Regions from separate parts of the Homo sapiens genome. Here region 2 is linked to region 1. The links are contacts of gene promoters, found by promoter capture Hi-C in human tissues and cell types (Jung and others, 2019). All regions are on one chromosome and are shown on one strand. Each heading gives the region's core, a stretch centred on a gene start or on the middle of the fragment in contact. The rest is flanking DNA. Distances are from core to core; before and after follow the strand shown. Region 1 holds the start of COG7 (component of oligomeric golgi complex 7). Region 2 overlaps SCNN1G (sodium channel epithelial 1 subunit gamma).

What was found. The method cuts DNA at HindIII sites, captures the fragments that hold promoters and counts their contacts. A contact is called where the count stands out against the background at its distance.
Region 2: a fragment that was not itself captured here is called in contact with the fragment with the promoter of COG7 in region 1 in 1 of the 25 tissues and cell types used here (lymphoblastoid cells).

What each region holds. Positions count from the first base shown.
Region 1 is chr16:23,451,909-23,454,631 of GRCh38, reverse strand. COG7 (component of oligomeric golgi complex 7) reads left to right here and starts at 1,443. Exons shown (of 17, transcript NM_153603.4): 1 at 1,443-1,806. The coding sequence starts at 1,638. It overlaps LOC124903667 (a long non-coding RNA gene), which reads right to left and starts at 1,889. Exons shown (of 2, transcript XR_007065030.1): 1 at 1,367-1,889. RefSeq lists enhancers at 1,114-1,163, 1,454-1,783. The HindIII fragment of the contact is 22,477 bases long and covers 1-2,723 here.
Region 2 is chr16:23,192,726-23,195,843 of GRCh38, reverse strand. It overlaps SCNN1G (sodium channel epithelial 1 subunit gamma), which reads right to left. Exons shown (of 13, transcript NM_001039.4): 5 at 1,570-1,673. Among named protein-coding and RNA genes, the nearest start is that of SCNN1G, 12 kb to the right of the region's middle. The HindIII fragment of the contact is 5,798 bases long and covers 1-3,118 here.

The DNA of each region.
Region 1 (2,723 bases), core at 194-2,693:
CTCCCCTCCCCCCAAATAACTGGGACTCCTAGCAGAAGGGTTACCCCAGTTAAAACCTACTCAACCCAGAAGAATGAGACAAACCAAGGGAGATGCCAATGAAAAACGAGTGACTATCAGGCCTGGAGATGGCAGCCAGCCACTCATACCCCAATGGCAGGCCAACCTGGAAAACTGTCCCCTGTAGGGTTTCCAAGGATGACATCTTGTCCTCCCCCTTGGGTTGGTCCCACTCTTGAAACAACATAAAAACTTAGAACCTAAAGAATACCCTCATACCTTCCCCTACCTTTTCTTCTTTTCTTTTCGAGACAGGGTCTCGCTCTGTCACCCAGGCTGGAGTGCAGTGGCGTGATCACAGCTCACTGCAGCCTCGACCTCCTGGGCTCAGGCAATCCTCTCACCCCAGCCTCTCGAGTAGCTGAGACTACAGGTGTGCGCCACCACACTCAGCTAATTTTTAATTTTTTTGCAGAGACGGGGTCTTCCTATGTTGCCCAGGCTGAGAAATTGTTTGTGATTATGGGTTATGCACAGATTTCTCAGCCGCAACACCAAAAGCATGATCCATAAAAAAAGGTGATAAGGAACTTAACAAACTTTAAAAGGTCTGCACCTCAAAACACATCATTAAGAAAATAATTAGTTAGGCCAGGCGCGGTGACTCACGCCTGTGATCCCAACACTTTGGGAGGCCGAGGCAGGCGGATCACCTGAGGTTGGGAGTTTGAGGCCAGCCTGGCCAGCGTGGTGAAACCCCATCTCTACTAATAATACAAAAAGTAGCCGGGCGTGGTGGCACGCGCCTGTAATCCCAGCTACTCGGGAGGCTGAGGCAAGACACTCGCTTGAACCTGGGAGGCGGAGGTTGCAGTGAGCCGAGATCGCGTCACTTCGCTCCAACCTGGGCGACAGAGCAAGACTCCGTCTCAGAAAAAAATAAAGAAAGAAAGAAAAAGAAAGAAATAGCCGGGCGTGTTGTCGCGCGCCTGTAGTCCCAGCTACTCTGGAGGCTGAGGTGGGAGGATCGCTGGAGCCCAGAAATTTGAGGCTGCAGTGAGCTGAGATCGTTCAATTGCCCAGGAATTTGAGGCTGTAGTGAGCAGAGATCGTTCAATTGCACTCCATTGCTGCCCACTGCGCTCCACTGTTGCCCAGGCTGTCCTAGAACTCCTGGCCTCAAGCGATTCTCCCGCGTCAGCTTCCTAAAGAGCTGGGATTACAGGCGCGAGCCACCGCGTAAATGCGCTAATGTATGTCAGGGCTTTATAGTAAGCATATAGTTTAGTCCTCGGCAAATGTTAGCAGACATGGGATATTTGTCGGTGCCGGGAGCTCTCAGTCCGGGGCGTTTTCCCACACCCACCTCTGCTCAGCGCTCCGGACGCCTGCAGTCACTATGGTAACGGCCAACGACTTCCGGAAGAAGAACGGCGGGCGGCGAGGGTCATTCCCAGCCGCAAACTGAGTGCGCTGAGCGGGGAAGCGCAAAGGGGCAAGTTACCCGTCCTGGCGTTTCTGGGGTTCGCCTCGGAGGCTAGCCTCGGTGCTCTCGCAGGCTCGCTCGCTTCTGCATCCCCGTTGCCGCCCGGAGCCAACTCTTAAGTTCTGGACGCCAGGCCTGAGGCAGTTCCGCCATGGACTTCTCCAAGTTCCTGGCAGACGACTTCGACGTGAAGGAGTGGATCAATGCGGCCTTCAGGGCCGGCTCCAAGGAGGCGGCGTCCGGGAAGGCGGATGGCCACGCAGCCACCCTGGTGATGAAGCTGCAGCTGTTCATCCAAGAGGTGAACCACGCCGTGGAGGGTGAGCCGCTCGGGGCCCTGGCCGCGGGACCCTCCCCTGCTCTCGGCTGGGCAGAGGTCACCGAACTTGCGTGAGGCACTCAGGTGGGCGGGGCACGCATGGACAGCAAATACCCTCGGCAAAAGAGCAAGCCCCGAACTCCTGATCACGTCAGCGGGAGTCTCAGCTGGGTGCCGGGCTGTCTTGAACACTTGCTAATTTTGGGTGTTGTTTTTCCTCCTCTGGCTGGGCTATAAGTTTCCTTTTTCTTTTCTTTCTTTCTCTTTGTTTTTTCTTTTGAAACAGGGTCTCTCTACAGTGGCTCGATCATAGCTCACTGCAGCCTCGAACTCCTGCACTCAAGCGATCCTCTCGCCTCTCGAGTCGCTAGGACTACAGGCGCGAGCCACCGCGCCCCACAAATTCTGTTTAAAAAAAAAATTGTAGAGATGGGATCTCACTGTGTTGCCAGGCTGGTCTCAAATTCAAATTCCTGGGCATAATGGGTTTTCCAGTCTTGGCCTCCCAAAGTACTGTGATTATACCTGTGAGCCACCACATCTGGCCTGAAGTTTCCTTTTGGAACTTAAAAGAGTGGATCTTATTGCAGTAGCTCTTCTCTAAATAATTCAATAGCAGATCTCTGGGATTCCCTTTTTATTATTATCCATAGGCACTGGAAGACAAGATGGATCTTTTTAAATGCTAGAAGTTTTAACCAGTTCTTAACATGTCTTTGTTGAGGCACCTTCCAGAATATAAGATAAAACAACTCCAGTTTCTGTTATAGTGACTTGAATCTCAGAGTCAAGAGCCCAGTGTCAAAGAAAATTGGCTTTGACTTTTTGTAATCTAGGAGCACGAGTCTGTGAGGTGTTTATTCAAAGAGTTAAAGAGCCTGTTTTGTACCAAACAATAAACTGTAAAAAGAAAAAAAA
Region 2 (3,118 bases), core at 514-3,013, 260 kb after region 1:
AACAAGGGCAATTTGTAAACAATTGCAAAGAATTGGTAAACAATTGCAAACGATTTGTAAACAATTGCAAACAATGTGTAAACAACTTGTAAACAATTGCAAACAATTTGTAAATAAGTTGTAAACAATTACAAACAAAGCCCAGAGAGGGGAAGTGAATTGCTTGAGGTCACACAGCCCCTCCATAGCAGAGCCAGTACTCTGCAACTTTTCACTTTCAGTTTCCAGATTACTTCTTCCCCATGAAATATGTGCACTGAATTATGATTTCTTGCAGACTTAGTAAGAGCACAGACTACACAGGGACAAAGGCCAGGATTCCAAGTGTGGATTTCCTTTATGACAGGCCCTCCCTTGTCCTGGTGCGAGTATATCTACATATCACATCATTTTCAATTTGCATGGGACCTTTCAAGAATTCCTTTTGGGCATAAGCCAGGCCAATCTGTTCAGTTCCTACCTTCCCTAGAAATGTAATCATAGTGGAATAGTAGTGCTGGAAATTGCAGTGGTATTATTTTGAGGGTAGTAGCAGCAGCAGCAATGGTGGTAGACTGGTAGCAATGCTAGTAACGGTAATAATAGCAGTAATAACAATAGCAACTAGCACTTATTGTGTGCTTGGTATGTGTTATGGCTGAATTGTTTTCTGCCTCAAATTCATATGTTGAAGCCCTAACCCCCAAAGGGATATTATTTTGAGATAGGACTTTAATTAAGGTGAAAGGAAGTCACAAGCAGGGGGCTCTAATCTGATAGGATTGATGTCCTGATCAGAAGAGGAAGAGACATCACAGGCCTCTCTCTGTTGACACACCACAGAGGAAAGGCCATCTGAGGACATGGAGAGAAGACAGCCAGCCTTCTGCAACCCAAAGAGAGAAGCCTCACCAGAACCGAGTCTGCCTGTGCCTTGATCTTAGACTTTCTAGTCTCCAAAACTGTGATAAATAAATGTCTACTGTCCAAGGCACCCAGTCTCTGGTATTTTGTTATGGCGGTCCAAGCAGACTAACAGAGTGCAGAGCAGGTCTTATTCTAAGTCTGTATCTTAAGTCCTGTCAGTAATCTCACATGGGAGATACTATTATTAGTCCCGCTTTATAGACGAAGCGCAGTAACTTGCCCAAGGTCACACAGTGAGTGGCCAAGCTGGGTTTCGGCTCCGTCCAGAATCTGTCACCTGAACTAAGATAAATGTGCGTCTACTTCCCTAATCTGTTCAGCATATCTGGGCTCAACTCCCTTTGGAAACCACCTGTCCTGCATTACTCACCCTAGCTATGAGTTTAAACCAGAGTAGTTCCCTAGCAGAAGGAACCCCAGTGATGTCCCTGTCGCTCTCTCAAAGATGGAAGAAAAGTCAAAAAGGAAAACAAACACTAACTTGGAAGGAAGGAACCAGCATGAACACTGATGGAAACACTGATAGAAAAAGGGGCATCCCTGGTTTCTGGCCAAGTGGGAGAGATCCCGCTTTTCCAGAGGGCTCCCGCATCCCCACTGTCCTGCTGCCCCCATGTCCACTATTGGAGGGCCTCAAGATCTCCTTGGCACAGGTTTCCTTACCATATTCGCTGCCCCCCATGGAGGTGCTGAGAATGGTCTCATTTTCTCTGTTGTTGAAAGTATAGCAATTCCCATGCATCGGGTGGTGGAAAAGCGTGAAATTCCTATGGAGGAAGAAAATGGGTCAGAAAGGGATCTCCCCCATGCATCTTAGCTGAAGTTGGGCAGGGCAGTGCTAATGGAGCCAACTCTCTTTGGGGAGAATGTGTGAGAGATGTGACTCATTTTCCCCATCTTGCTCCTGATCAAATGACAAACAAGGCCCCTCATCCTGGTTGACACACATGGACATAGAACTAGACTCTCTGCCTTCTGTTTTCTCTCGGAATCTTCTCACCTTCATCTCTATCCTGACTTGACATTCTTTGTGCCATGTCTGTCCCCAAATTCCTCCACTTTTGAATTTCTCAGCCAACACTTGACATTTTCCATTAAAATTCTCAGTCCTAGAAAATAATCCCCAGGGCATCATCTGTGCCCTTACATGACTTTGGAACCCAACTCTTAGGGAGACATGATTCCAGTTATTTACTTTTCACAAGAACCAATCTGTCTGCTAACATATACAGATAGGTGAAAGAGGCTTAGTGTTTTATTTTATTGTATTGTATTGTATTTTTATTTCTGAGATAGGGTCTTGCTCTTTTGCCCAGGCTGAAGTGCAGTGGCGCAATTATGGCTCACTGCAGCCTCAACCTCCCAGACTCAAGCAATCTTCCCACCTCAGCCTCCTGAGTAGCTGGGACTACAGGTGTGTGCCATTATGCCCAGATAAGTTTTTGAATTTTTTTTGTAGAAAGGAGGTTTTGCCACATTGCCCAGGCTGGTCTCGAACTCCTGAGCTCAAGCAATCATCTTCCTCAGCCTCCCAAAGTGCTGGCATTACAAGCGTGAGCCACTGTGCCCAGCCCAGGAACACTTTAGAATGTCTCACCCACTGCTCAGTCACTATAAGGGATCTGAGTGTTATCATAAAGGTGAAAGGTTTGAAATCTCACATATTTGAACATGGGCCTTTCTCCTCCCATCCCTCCCTCCATCTCTTCCTTCCTTCCTTAGAACGATGGTTCTTAGTCATCAGTATGCATGATGGTAATATACAAGGTTAGGTTATAGGCACACCATATGACAAAAACAGCAATTACTTTTGTGCCAATCTAATACCTTGTGGGTTGGGTTTTTTTTTTTTTTTTTTTTTTTTTTTTGAGACAAGAGTCTCACTCTGCAGCCCAGGCTTGAGTGCAGTAGTGCAATCTTGGCTTATTGCAACCTCCGCCTCCCGGGTTCAAGCGATTCTTCTGCCTCAGTCTCCTGAATAGCTGGGACTACAGGCATGCACCACCATGCCTGGCTAAGTTTTGTATTTTTAGTAGAGACGGGGTCTCGCTATGTTAGCCAGGCTGGTCTTGAACTCCTAGCCTCAAGTGATCCACCCACCCCAGCCTCCCAAAGTGCTGGGATTTAGAGGCGTGAACCACCATGCCTGGCCAACTACCTTGTTTTTAATGAGTAGTTTAATGAGTTTAAGGATATTTTGATTTTATGTCAT